Regions from separate parts of the Homo sapiens genome. Here regions 2, 3 and 4 are each linked to region 1. Evidence: promoter capture Hi-C in human tissues and cell types (Jung and others, 2019). All regions are on one chromosome and are shown on one strand. Each heading gives the region's core, a stretch centred on a gene start or on the middle of the fragment in contact. The rest is flanking DNA. Distances are from core to core; before and after follow the strand shown.

What was found. Contacts are between HindIII fragments. The study calls those that stand out against the background at their distance.
Region 2: a contact is called between a fragment that was not itself captured here and the fragment with the promoter of MCM10 in region 1, in 1 of the 25 tissues and cell types used here (thymus).
Region 3: a contact is called between a fragment that was not itself captured here and the fragment with the promoter of MCM10 in region 1, in 1 of the 25 tissues and cell types used here (H1 embryonic stem cells).
Region 4: a fragment that was not itself captured here is called in contact with the fragment with the promoter of MCM10 in region 1 in 2 of the 25 tissues and cell types used here (IMR-90 fibroblasts and dorsolateral prefrontal cortex).

What each region holds. Positions count from the first base shown.
Region 1 is chr10:13,159,934-13,163,338 of GRCh38, forward strand. MCM10 (minichromosome maintenance 10 replication initiation factor) reads left to right here and starts at 1,625. Exons shown (of 20, transcript NM_018518.5): 1 at 1,625-1,673. RefSeq lists silencers at 1,374-1,687, 1,710-1,889. The HindIII fragment of the contact is 5,218 bases long and covers 1-2,558 here.
Region 2 is chr10:12,186,674-12,190,174 of GRCh38, forward strand. The region is part of intron 1 of NUDT5 (nudix hydrolase 5); the gene reads right to left. Among named protein-coding and RNA genes, the nearest start is that of NUDT5, 7.5 kb to the right of the region's middle. RefSeq lists an enhancer at 3,405-3,501. The HindIII fragment of the contact is 4,727 bases long and covers 1-3,501 here.
Region 3 is chr10:12,264,847-12,268,431 of GRCh38, forward strand. No RefSeq gene overlaps it. Among named protein-coding and RNA genes, the nearest start is that of CDC123, 70 kb to the left of the region's middle. The HindIII fragment of the contact is 6,741 bases long and covers 1-3,585 here.
Region 4 is chr10:12,203,234-12,206,859 of GRCh38, forward strand. The region is part of intron 2 of CDC123 (cell division cycle 123); the gene reads left to right. Among named protein-coding and RNA genes, the nearest start is that of CDC123, 8.9 kb to the left of the region's middle. The HindIII fragment of the contact is 5,747 bases long and covers 1-3,626 here.

The sequences.
Region 1 (3,405 bases), core at 375-2,874:
CACTTAAGGAAGGTTTGCGGGCTTAGGTTGGTTCTGTTTCTGACTCCTTGCCCGGAACTGGATGCAAAGAGGACCTGGAAAGTGAAGGTGAAGAAAAGAACTTCAGAGTACTGATCAGAATTAGTCAAGGAATTTCTGCATAATGGCTAAGAATAAATCTATGACGAATCTTTTTTTTTTAATAACTAGATGTAGTGATGCATTTATTTATTTATTTATTTATTTATTTATTTATTTATTTAGACAGAGTCTGGCTCTGTCGCCAGGCTGGAGTGCAGTGGCGAGATCTCGGCTCATCACTGCAATCGCCACCTCCCAGGTTCAAGCGATTCTCCGCCTCAGCCTCCCAAGTAGCTGGGATTACAGACGCGCACCACTACGCCCAGCTAATTTTTGTGTTGTGTGTGTTTTTAGTAGAGATGGGGTTTCACCATGTTGGCCAGGCTGGTCTCGAACTCCTAACCTCGTGATCCACCCACCTCGGCCTCCCAAAGTGCTGGGATTACAGGGGTGAGCCACCGTGCCCGGCCTTAGTGCCGTATGTTTAAAAGTACGCATTTAAACATACTTTTTCAATTTGATTACTAGAGTTCCTCCATTACTATGAATTTTTAACACTAGCAGCTCTCAGAAATGGTTGTATTCCTATTCCTGAGCCAATATAGGTTTAAGTAATAGGGCTGAGCTCATAAATGGAGCAGTAATATTCCATTAGGACACAGAAAAAAGTCAACGTAGATGGCATCAGGACTGTTTATCTTCAGTCTTCCTAAAGTCGATTTTAATTGTTCTGAAAATGAAAGTACGTAGTGGATAGAGATAGGATCTTATACCAAAGGGATTATTAGTGGGGGAACTGCAGTGCCTGAACAGTGTCTGCAAGGAGGAAAAGGGGGGAAAGACTTAAAGTGGCCATTTGGTCCATCAAAGTCTCTTCTGCTATCAATCCCTTGAAATTATGTAAAAGCTAAATGTTATTCTGCATTTAGAAACTATGTTCTTAGTATTATGTACAAACACTATTTTTTAGAATGTAAATACATAAAGAGGCCTGAATTTTACTGAAAAAAAAATCTGTGAAAGATATGGTCTGCTGATAAGTTCTCTTCAGCCCTGACGCCCCTTAGAAGTCCCAAAATCTATGGAACAGGAATTACTCGGGAAATGGTGGTTTCAGTGTAAAAGATGTCATCTACCCTTTCCCTCACTGCACAGATGGTGAAGGGGAAACTCAGAGAGATAAGTCACTTCCCCAAGGTCAGACAGGGTAAAAGTGGACCGGATCTGTTTGGTCCTGAGCCCAAACATTTCGAATGGACATAAGGCTGACAAAGGAACAGTCGGTCCCAGAGCGTCAGGAGTTGAGGTGGGATGGGACCGCAGGGAAAATACTGGGTGGGATGACTTAAACTTCCCGGCACCAGGGGGCGCCAGACACTCTATTTTACCTAAAGGAGACTGGCTTCTACCGACAGGAAGGTCCCTTGCCCCCAACAAAGAGGGCGTCCAATGACGTAAACCAATCCGATTGCTCTGTGCCAGGGCCGGGATTCGCTGGCGTAGCCAGTCAGTGCTGCCCCACAGCCGCGTGCGTCTGACGTCAAGGCAGGGGCGGGATCCGGTTGGAATTTTGGCGGGTTCAGCTGTGAACGAAGAAGGCGTCCCGGCATCGGGTGAGGAGCGCGGGCCCCGGGCGTGCGTGTGACCCTCGGGCGGCGGGGCCGGGGCCGCCTCGCACGTCTCTGCGCGGGTTGCAAGGGGTCCGAGGCTAGAGGCGCGGGGTCCCGGGAGCTCGGGTGGGCGCGATCTGGATTTGGCGGCAGCTTGGGACCGCTCGGAGCTGGCATGGCCGGGCCGGGGGCTGGGAGTTGCTGGCCGTCTACTAAGGAATCGGGTTCTTCCTTTTAAACGCAGCCTTTTAAGTGCTTGCCAAGTGCCTGCCGCCTGGGCTTTCTTTTATTCATTCATTCATTCATTCATTCATTGGTTTCTCGTATTCATGATTTGCCAATGATTATTGAATGCGGACGGTGTGCATGGCTCGGATCACATTTCCGCTGCCTTCACAGCGCTTACAGTTTAAAGGCACGAGCAGGTAGTAAACAAATGCACGACAGTGGACGACTCAGGGTGGTCCAGAAAGTCTCAGAAAGATGAGTAAGTGGAGACCGAAGGGCGAGAAGGACCTGGGGGGAGCTTTCTTCGACAGAGCCTGAGACCTCAAAGCAGCTTAGTGTGTTCCAGAAGGTGGAAGCGGGCTGGCCCGGCTGGAGCATCGTTATGGGTGTCGGGGTGGGTAGAATTGGACGTGGTGGATTGTGGAAAATGTGAGGGAGTAGAAAGCTTGGAAAGAGAGAGAGAATATGAATCATTGCCTCGCAGGCTTTGTAGATTTTTTCTAAGGGCAATGGAAAATCATTAAAGAATTTCAATGAAGGGACCCCCATGATCTGATTTATGTTCCTAAAGGTTACTAAGGAAAGGGAAGATTACCGTGGCTGTCGTATGCAGAACAGATTGCACGGGGACAAAGAGACCAACATAGAAAGCTAACACAGTCATTGGGTTAAAGGTTGACGGTGGCTTGGCCTAGGGTTCTGGCAGTGAAGTTGGAGAGAAGTGGCAGATTTGAGCAGTGTTTTGGAGATGGGACCACAGTACTTGTCAGTGGCCGTGGATTTGAGGGCGAGGGAGGGTGCACAGTTTCATTTTGGGGGAAGGCAAGGCCGGTTACAGACTTGAACGAGACAGTTTGCTCCTAACGCTCAGGAAGCTTACTGTCCAATAGGTTCCCCAGTAGATAGCACAGTGTGTGGCACATGAGGGATCCGTGGAAATGTTGGTTGAATGAATTTTTAAAAAGCGGCCAGGCGCGGTGGCTCACGCCTGTAATCCCAGCGCTTTGGGAGGCCAAGGCGGACGGATCACCAGGTCAGGAGATCGAGACCATCCTGGCTAATACGGTGAAACCCCATCTCTACTAAAAATACAAAAAATTAGCCGGGCGTGGTGGCGGGCGCCTGTAGTCCCAGCTACTCGGGAGGCTGAGGCAGGAGAATGGCGTGAACCCGGGAGGCGGAGCTTGCAGTGAGCCAAGATCGCCCCATTGCACTCCAGCCTGGGTGACAGAGACTCCGTCTCAAAAAAAAAAAAAAGCACCTTTGGGAGTCCAAGGCTGATGGATCACTTGACATCAGGAGTTCAAGACCAGCCTGGGCAACATGGCGAAACCCTGTCTCTACAAAAAACACAAAAATTAGCCGGGTGTGGTAGTGCACGTTTGTAATCCCAGCTACTTGGGAGGCTGGGGCAGGAGAATCACTGGAGCCTGGGAGGCGGAGGTTGTAGTGAGCCAATAGCACCACTGCACTCCAGCCCCAGCGACAGAGCGAGATCCTGTCTAAA
Region 2 (3,501 bases), core at 755-3,254, 970 kb before region 1:
GTGGAGTGCAATGGCGCGATCTCAGCTCACTGCAACCTCCGCCTCCTGGGTTCAAGTGATCCTCGTGCCTCAGCCTCCCGAGTAGCTGGGATTACAGGCATACATCACCAGGCCTGGTAATTTTTATATTTTTAGTAGAGACAGGGTTTCACCACGTTGGCCATGCTGCTCTCAACCTCCTGACATCAAGTGATCTGCCCTCCTTGGCCTCCCAAAGTGCTGGGATTACAGGCGTGAGCTACCGCGCCCAGCCTGATTTTTCTGACTCCGAATCTTAAACTCTTTCCAAGGGAAGACAGAAGAAAGATTTACCACTCTCCATGCCCACCTCTCAGTCTTTTATCCATCTGTTACACCTAAACTTACTTATTTTTTGAGATGTAAGATCTCACTCTGTTGCACAGGTTGGAGTGCAGTGGCGAAATCATGGCTCACTGTAGCCTCTACCTCCCAAGCTCACGTGCTCCTCGCATCTCAGCCTCCTGAGTAGCTGGGATTACAGGTGCATGCTACCACAGCCAACTAATGTTTTAAACTTTTGGTAGAGGTGGGGTCTCACTATGTTTCACAGGCTGGTCTCAGACTCCCGGGCTCAAGCGATCCTCCTCCCGCCTCGGTGTCCCAAAGTGCTGGGATTACAGGCATGAGCCACTGGACCCACCTCCCCACTTACTTTTAAGTTTCAGCATGTATCAAAGTCATAGTTGCAGAGAAAGGATCGAGTAGTACTACAAGTTCTGTTATGAAAAGAGCAGGCCCTTATCCCATTTATTGTATATTATTATTTCCTCTTTCTTTATTCCTTCATTTTCGGACCTTGCCTGTCCGAAGGTCAAAGTCTTTTTTTCTTACCCACACACATGGTTGTTAATTCAGCTGTATATAGAATTATAGACCCAAAGCCAGTTGTCTATGAAACTGTAAGGCATTGCTTAGTTGTCTTACTTCTGGTGCTGCTGTTGAGAAGTCCAAAGCTATTCTTATTCTTGATCTTTTTGCCATGTGACCTGTCTTCCTCCTCTGGAAGCTTGTAGTTAGTCACTTTCATGTCGATGTTATTGTACTGGGAAGTCAAGTGGGTCCTTTCAATCTGGAAACTTCTTACTATGCTTCTTTACAGGGAATTTTTTTCTTGAACGACTTCACTGATGATTTCCTCCCCTGTGTTTTCTCTGTTGTTTCTTTTAAGAACTGTTACTTGGACCAGGCACAGTGGCTCACACCTGGAATCCTAGCCCTTTGGGGGACCAAGAGTCTGAGACCAGCCTGGGTAACATGGCAAAACCCTGTCTCCACAAAAATAAAAAATAAAAAAATTAGCCGGGTGTGGTGGTGGGCACCTGTAGTCCCAGCTACTCAGGAAGCTGAGGCAGGAGGGTCATTTGGACCCAGGAGTTGGGGGTTGCAGAGAGCCGAGATCACGCCACTGCACTCTTACGTTCCACGGTTCTCTAACCTACCCCACCTAACTTCGGCTTCAAAGAAAATACAGCCCACCCAGCATCAACTCTCTTCCCAACTGTCCTAAAGGAAAAAGTGAGTCTGCTCTTTGTTTCTTCTGGGACCCAAAGTGATCATACTACCCATCTGATCTTCAATTTGTCCCCAAGACAGCAAGCTTCCCTATTCTAAAATACAATCAATAACAAAACCAACTGTATGAATATTCATAAAGTGCGTTTACAAATCAAATATCTGATTGACTATCATAGGTAACCCTTGTGGCCAACCTGTGAAAGGTGAGATGATGTTTTAGGAAAGTGGCGGTGAGGCCGGGTGCGGTGGCTCACGCCTCACGCCTACAATCCCAGCACTTTGGGAGGCCAGGGCGGGTGGATCACGAGGTCAAGAGATGGAGACCATCCTGGCCAACATGGTGAAACCCTGTCTCTACTAAAAATACAAAAATTAGCTGGACGTGGTGGGGTGCGCCTGTAGCCCCAACTACAGGGAAGGCTGAGGGAGGAGAATGGCTTGAACCCAGGAGATGGAGGTTGCAGTGAGCTGAGATCGTGCCACTGCACTGCAGCCTGGCGACAGAGCAAGACTCCATCTAAAAAAAAAAAAAAAAAAAAAAAAGTGGTGGTGAGAGGGACAAAGACCCTCACTCCCCCGGACCTCATTTTCCAGTGAGGAGAAAGGAAAAACAGTGAGGAAGAACACAAAATTTATGTCAAGTGACTCAGCGTTTCATGAAGAAAGATTAAAAAGGATGAGAAGTGTGGGGAAGATGGGAAGAGTAATCTACACGGAGTGATCAGGCAAGGCCTGTTTAATTTGGTGACTTCTGAATGGAGACCTGAAAGCAATAAGGAAGTAAACCACGTAGAAGTTTAAATATTTAGAGACAGACATTAGCATATTGAAACCTGCAGCCCTACTAAGAAAACAGGCACTTATTCCTTTGAAAGTACCATAGATGATAATTTATTAGGTAAACTTTTTTTTTTGAGATGGAGTTTCGCTCTTGTTGCCCGGCTGGAGTGCAAAGGCATGATCTCGGCTCACTGCAACCTCTGCCTCACGGATTCAAGCGATTCTCCTGCCTCAGCCTCCCGAGTACCTGGGATTACAGGCTCCTACCACTGCACCCGGCTAATTTTTACATTTTTAGTAGAGATGGGGTTTTGCCATGTTGGGCAGGCTGGCCTCGAACTCCTGACCTCAGGTGATCCACCAGCCTCAGCCTCCCAAAGTGCTGGGATTACAGGCGTGAACCACCGTGCCTGGCCGCTAAAAGAGAGTATTTCTTTGGAATGCAATCAGCCTCAAAGGGAAACAGTATCGTGCAGCAATCCACTGATTCCGTGAATGACAAAAATGAGCTATTTCAAGAGCATATTCTTAACTATGAGATTCCCAAACATTTCAGAAGGACTGTAAAAGTACCTCAGAAATTTTTAGAAACAGAAAAGGAATGTTGTTTTTAGCACCATTTCAAAAGCAGAAGCCAAATAGTGCCATTCGGGGGCCAGTCACTGCCAGCAACACGCTGCAGAAAGAACGAGAAATGAGCTTTAAATTCCGTGCTTTGTAAGCCAGCGTCTCCGCCACTGCAACGGAGTTTGCCTTCACTGACTCAACGCTATTTCAAGATTTAAAAGCAAACTTTGATATAAATTTTATCCACTTCATTAGTTAGAATTTAAGGTAATTTGCATATTGCCAATATGTGTATGGTATGAAAAAGATACATGTACACGATGTTGAGTGTTCTACAATTTTTTTTTTTTTTTTTGAGACAGAGTCTTGCCTTGTCGCCCAGGCTGGAGTGCAGTGGCGCGATCTCCGCTCACTGCAAGCTCCGCCTCCTGGGTTCATGCCATTCTCCTGCCTCAGCCTCCCAAGTAGCTGGGATTACAGGTACCTGCCACCATGCCTGATTAATTTTTTGTATTTTTAGGAGAGACGGGGTTTCACCGTGTTAGGATGGTCTCGATCTCCTGACCTCGTGATCCACCCGCCTCGGCCTGCCAAAGTGCTGGAATTACAGGCGTGAGT
Region 3 (3,585 bases), core at 551-3,050, 890 kb before region 1:
GCAGGAGAATCGCTTGAGCCTGGGAGGTGGAGGTTGCAGTGAGCCGAGATCACACCACTACACTCCAGCATGGGTGACAGAGCGAGACTCCATCTCAAAAAAAAAAAAAAAAAAAAAAAAAAAAAAAAAAAGAACTAGCAACAAGCAAAGGCTGTGTTGCTTATGATACTTATTCCTGACAAAGGAAGGATGAACCTGAACTCTTAAATCTAAGGTGTTACCGGAAAGGGGTCCCGATCTAGACCCCAAGAGACCCTCGCACAAGAAGGAATTCAGGGCGAGTCCATAGAGTAAAGTGAAAGGAAGTTTATTAAGAAAGTAGAGAAATAAAAGAATGGCTACTCCATAGATAGAGTAGCGCAGGGGGCTGCTGGTTGTCCATTTTTATGGTTATTTCTGGATGATACGCTAAACAAGCGGTGGATTATTCATGCCTCCCCTTTTTAGACCATACAGGGTAATTCCTGATGTGGCCTTGGCATTTGTAAACTGTCATAGCGCTGGTGGGAGTGTAGCAGTGAGGACCACCAGAGGACACTGTCCTCGCCATGTTGGTTTTGGCCACTGTTTTACTGCAACCTGTTTTATCAGCAAGGTCTTTATGACCTGTGTTTTGTGCGGATCTCCTATCTTATCCTGTGACTTAGAATGCCTTAACCATCTGGGAATGCAGCCCAGTAGGTCTCAGCCTTATTTTACCCAGCTCCTGTTTAAGATGGAGTTGCTCTGGTTCAAACGCCTCTGACAAAGGGACAGTCATTTCACCTCACACATGAAAGCAAACCTAAAATTTTCTCTATTGGAAGTTCAATCTTGGCTAAGGGCATGATTTAGAAATCAAAGGAGTCTGACCTTCACGTGGTTTTGAACACTTGTGGAAAGGTAGCTGTGGGAAGGGACGTAGCCTTTGTAATGCAAGAGGAGAGAATGGGGTGTGGGGCGTGTGGCCCAGAAATGACACAGAACTCTGACAGCACTGCCCGGTTGCCATGTAGCTAGGTAAATATTTGCAAAGCACCTACTGCTTCTCCGGACTCGGGGCAAGTGTCTACTGGGCATGAAACCATCTCCGTGGGGAAGTGAGCCTTACCCAGTTCTTATCTCCCTCTTGAGGCCAAGTTCACAGAATATGACACAACTTCCAGAGGAAAGGGGGGCCTGCCAGTTCTTATCTTCCTCTCTCAGCTGGCATTGGGACATTTTAGTGGCCAGGACCAATGTGTTATCTGTAGGAGCCCTGAAGAGAAGAGGTGGGCCCAGAGGCTTTTTTTTTTTTTTTTTTTTTTTTTTTTTGAGACAGAGTCTCGTTCTGTCGCCAGGCTGGAGTGCAGTGGTGCGATCTCGGCTCACTGCAAGCTCCGACTCCCTAGTTCAAGCGATTCTCCTGCCTCAGCCTCCCAAAGAGCTGGAATTACAGGCACACACCACCACACCTAGCTAATTTTTGTATTTTTAGTAGAGACAGCGTTTCACCATGTTGGCCAGGGTGGTCTCGCTCTCCTGACCTTGTGATCCGCCTGCCTCGGTCTCCCAAAGTGCTGGGATTACAGGTGTGAGCCACCGCGCCCGGCCAAGACTCGTCTTCTGGATATTAATTCCCGGAGCTGTCATTTCCTGAGAGCTCATGATCAAGAGGCATTGAGAGGTAGACCAGCTCGCTGTATAATTGTTAGCGGTGCCAATCTGTAAGGCACGCTACAGTGTCATGGAGCTGTAATGAGATGGAAAATCATATTTCTCAGAGGTCTTCTCAGGTAGACTATTCTTTTTTAAAAATTTCAAATACAATTTAAAAACAAGTGCATGTTTTAAAATGTCATTTACCAAATCAAAAGCCAAACTAATAGAAAAAAAAATTTGTAACAAATATGCCAGATCAAAGCTTAATATAGTTAACATACAAATAAAAGGACTTCAAAATTAAACAAAATAAGATTGGGTTAAGGATGTTATACAGGCAATTCATAAAGGAAAAAACACAAATATACAATAAATATATAAAAAGATGTTCAAGACAGAATAAAAAATGCATATTACACTGTTGTAGAATAATATTTTTATGTAACCAAGTGAGAAATATTTTTAAATGGCAATATAATTGGTGTAGAAATGTAATCCTATGTAATTCTGCAATATATATGTTCAAAAGGCTTTTTTTTTCTTTTTAGGAAAGGCCTCTATTATAGATTTGATTAAAAAATATATATATATAGCCTGGCGCGGTGGTCACGCCTGTAATCCCAGCACTTTGGGAGGCTGAGGCCAGCGGATCACGAGGTCAGGAGATCGAGACCATCCTGGCTATCACAGTGAAACCCCGTCTCTACTAAAAATACAAAAAAATTAGGCGGGCGTGGTGGCGGGTGCCTGTAGTCCCAGGTACTCGGGAGGCTGAGGCAGGAGAATGGCGTGAACCCGGGAGGCGGAGCTTGCAGTGAGCCGAGATCGCGCCACTGCACTCCAGCCTGGGCGACCGAGAGAGACTTAAATAAATAAATAAATATAGAACCATTTAGATTTTCTATTTTTGTGTATCTGTTTTGCCTTTTTTTTTTTTTAGACGGGGTCTCACTCTGTCGCCAGGCTGGAGTGCAGTGGCGCAATCTTGGCTCAAGGTAACCTCCGCCTCCCGGGTTCAAGCGATTCTCCTGCCTCAGCCTCCCGAGTAGCTGGGACTACAGGCACGTGCCACCACGCCCAGCTAATTTTTGTATTTTTAGTAGAGACGGGGTTTCACCCTGTTAGCCGGGATGGCCTCAATCTCTTGACCTTGTGATCTGCCTGCCTCGGCCTCCCAAAGTGCTGGGATTACAGGTATGAGCCACCACACCCAGCCTTTTTTTTTTTTTTTTGAGACGGAGTCTCGCTCTGTCTCCCAGGCTGGAGTGCGGTGGCGCAATCTCAGCTCACTGCAAGCTCCGCCTCCCAGGTTCACGGCATTCTCCCGCCTCAACCTCTGGAGTAGCTGGGACTACGGGCACCCACCACCAGGACCGGCTAATTTTTTTTTTTTTTTTTTTTTTTTTTGTATTTTCAGTAGAGACGGGGTTTTCACCATTCACAGGATGGTCTAAATCTCCTGACCTTGTGATCCGCCCACCTCGGCCTCCCAAAGTGCTAGGATTACAGGGGTAAGCCACCGCACCTGGCCTTTTTTTTTTTTTTTTTTTTTTAGATTGTGTCTCACTCACTCTGTTGCTCAGGCTGGAGTGGAGTGGCATGATGTCAGTTCACTTGCAACCTCTGCCTCCGAGGTTCAAGCAATTCCCCTGCCTGAGCCTCCCAAGTAGCTGCGATTACAGGCATGCACCACCATGCCTAGCTAATTTTGTATTTTTAGTAGAGATGGGATTTCACCATGTTGGCCAGGGTGGTCTCTAACTCCTGACCTCAGGTGATCTGCCAGCCTCGGCCTCCCAAAGTGCTGGGATTACAGGCGTGAGCCACCGTGCCTGGCCTGTTTTGCAAGTTTTTAAAATTAAATATATATTTTCAAAAACTCAAGTCCAAAAGACTGGTCTCTTGGGTCTCTCCTCCTTTTCCAGCAATTGTGGATATAGGAATTACCCTGACCTGATCACTGTA
Region 4 (3,626 bases), core at 628-3,127, 960 kb before region 1:
CCTCATCCTCCATTACTTCCACATATAGTACATGCCTTTCTTTCCAGACTCTATAAGGTATAGTCTTGTTTACAGTTAGAATTTAGCACATAGTCTGGGTTCAATAAATATTGGTTGAATGAGTGAATGAACATGCTTATCCTACTTTCTCTCCATGGTAACCTCTACTGAGTTCAGTGAATAGAATAGGCCAAGTATGATGACTAGTTTACCTTGTTTGCCGACTCAGATCTAATGGTAATGGTTTCCTGGAGTGATATGTAGAGGATTCTGAGGCTGCATCCAGGGTTCGGTGAGAAAGCATGCTTGGTTTGATTCTCGTTGCCTGCTGTGGGTGTAGGAAAGGAGGCTGGCAATGTGCTTTTCTGATAGAGACAGTGATTCAATTTCACTGAACAGTTATTGCATGCCTAGTATGAGATGGGCACCAAGGAAACGGGCACCAAGCTTGATACTAGCGTAACAAGATGAGCAGGGCATCCTACCGTAGGAGTCTAGGCTTATTAGCAAGTCAAACATAAATAAATAAATAAATGTCTTGAGTTGTGTTGCGAAAAATGTTTTTGAATAAAAGCATCAACCAGCTGTGGTGGCTCATGCCTGTAATCTAGCACTTTAGGAGGCGGAGGTAAGAGGATCACTTGAGGCCAGGAGATGGAGACCAGTCTGGCCAACATAGTGGGGCCCCATCTCTACAAAAAAATAAGAAATTAGCTGGGCGTGTTGGCACACACCTGTAGTCCCAGCTGCTCAGGAGGCTGACACACAAGGATGGCTTGAACCCAGGAATTGGAGGCTGCAGTGAGCTATGATCATGCCTCTGCACTCCAGCCTGGGCAACAGAGCAAGACCTTGTCTCAAAAAAAAAAAAAAAAAAGTATCAGGTATTCTGATAAGTAATGTATTTGGGGTTTAATTAATCACTGTGAGCTGGGGTCATCCAGAAAGTGTTTACAGTAAGGTGATACTTGAACTGAGCCCACACACTGGGTCTGACGCAGGTGGTACCTCCCTTCCAGGCACTAATCCTCATTGTTTCTTCTTGGTCACGAGTTCTTTCCTGACCTTGTCTCCCTTAAGGCTGAATAGTAAAATGAGTTGAGCATCCCTAATTAGAAAATCTGAAATCTGTCCAGATGGGTGCTGAGATAGTGACATTTTTGCTTTCTGAATATTGTATAAAATTACCTTTGAGCCATGTGTATAAGATGTATGTGACACTGACACATAAATGATTTTTTTAAATTTTTTAATTTTTAGTTTTTGTGGGTACATAGTGTACATATTTATGGGGAACAAGAGATGTTTTGATCCAGGAATGCAATGTGACATTAGCACATCGTGGAGAAAGGGGTGTCCATCCCCTCAAGCATTTATTCATTAAGTTGCAAACAATCCAATTACAGTCTTTATTTTTAGATGTACAGTTATTATTGACTATAGTCACTCTATTGTTCTGTCAAGTAGTAGGTCTGTGGTCGGGTGCTGTGGCTCATGCCTGTAATTCCAGCACTTTTGGAGGCTCAGGTGGGCAGATCACCTGAGGTCAGGAGTTCAAGACCAGCCTGGCCCAACATGGTGAAACCCCGTCTCAACTAAAACTACAAAAATTAGCTGGGCATGGTGGCAGGCGCCTGTAATCTCAGCTGCTCAGGAGGCTGAGGCAAGAGAATCACCTGAACCTGGAAGATGGAGGCTGCAGTGAGCCGAGATCGTGCCACTGCACTCCAGCCTGGATGACAGAGTGAGACTCCATATCAAAAAAAAAAAAAAAAAAAAAAGGTCTTATTCATTCTTTCTACTTTTTTTGGTACTCATTAACCCCCACCTCCTCACAGTCCCCTACTACCCTTCACAGCCTTTGCTAACCATCTTTCTACTCTCTATATCCATGAGTTCAATTAGTTTTTAGATCCCACAGATAAGTGAAAACGTGGTGTTTGTCTTCCTGTGCCTGGCTTACTTCACTTAACATAATGATCTCCAGTTTCATCCATTTTGTTGCAAACGACTGGATCTCATTCTTTTTTAATGACTGAATAGTACTCCATTGTGTATATGTACCACATTTTCTTTATCCATCATCAGTTGGTGAGCACTTAGGTGGCTTCCAAATCTTAGCTATTGTAAACAGTGCTGCAACAAACAGGAGTTTACGTTTAGACTTGGGTCCCATCCCTAAGATATCTCATATATATGCAAATACTCCAAAATCCCAAACACTTTTGACCCCAAGCATTTTGGATATAGGATCCTCAACCAGTAGATGCCAATTATAAAATACATTAGGCATATTCATATTTTGATTCTTCACAATTCTGTGAAGTAGTTGCTATTTTCCCAGTTTTATAGATGGCATATTGATGCAAAGTTCTTGGCTGACAGTGGCAGAACTGAGATATTTAAACTCTGTCTGCCTGCCTCTAGAGCCACTGCTCTGGTGTGCCAGCTCTGTGTAAGTTGTAATATAGAAAATATAGCATCCTAAATATTAGCACCATACTTTATCCATTTAGTTCTCTGCATGCAGAGGGTTACCTTAGAAAGCCAAGTCTAATAAACTTTCACTTTTTTTTTTTTTTTGAGGCAGAGTCTCACTGTGTCACCTAGGCTGGAGTGCAGGGGCACGATCTTGGCCCACTGCAACCTCTGCCTACCGGGTTCAAGCGATTCCCTTGCCTCAGCCTCCTGAGTAGCTGGGACTACAGGTGCCTGCGACCACGCCCAGCTAATTTTTTTTGTATTTTTAGTAGAGATGGGGTTTCACTATTTTGGCCAGGCTAGTCTTGAACTCCTGACCTCATGATCCACCCGCCTTGGCCTCCCAAAGTGCTGGGATTACAGGCGTGAGCCACCGTACTTGGCCAAACTTGCATATTTTTATACATTGTCACCTTTTACAGTGAATAAAATTTGTCATACTTTACAGTAGGCACTGCAATAATTTCTGAAGAACTATATGAATACCTTGATAACAAGTATGTTTTTTAAAATGTATGTTGTTATACTAACAAATATGGTAAGTGATTTTTAGAGTGGTAGAATACATTTTCATATTTCATCTTATATTGTAAGATTAGGTAAGCAGCCATGTTAAAGATAATGTTGCATTTGAAAATATTATGTGGCATTTAAAGAGAGACGTAAGAGAGAAAGGCTGGCCCCTTGGGCAGGGATTCACACGCTGACAGTGTGTTAGTATTTCCACTATAGAACAGTTCTTAGCTTTGACTGGTTCTTAGCTTTGTGAATCTGGAAAAGCAAGAATTACAAAGAGTTGATTAAAACTTGGGGAAGGCCGGGTGCAGTGGCTCATGCCTGTAATCCCAGCACTTTGGGAGGCCAAGGCGGTTCGATTATCTGAGGCCAGCAGTTTGAGACCAGACTGACCAACATGGCGAAACCCCATCTCTAGTAAAAATACAAAAATTATCTGGGCATGAGGTCAGATGCGGTGGCTTATGCCTGTAATCCCAGTGCTTTAGGAGGCCAAGGAGGGCGGATCACAAGGTCAGGAGATCGAGACCATCCTGGCCAACACGGTGAAACCCCATCTCTACTAAAAATGCAAAAAAATTAGCCGGGTGTGGTGGCGGGCGCCTGGAGTCCCAGCTACTCGGGAGGCT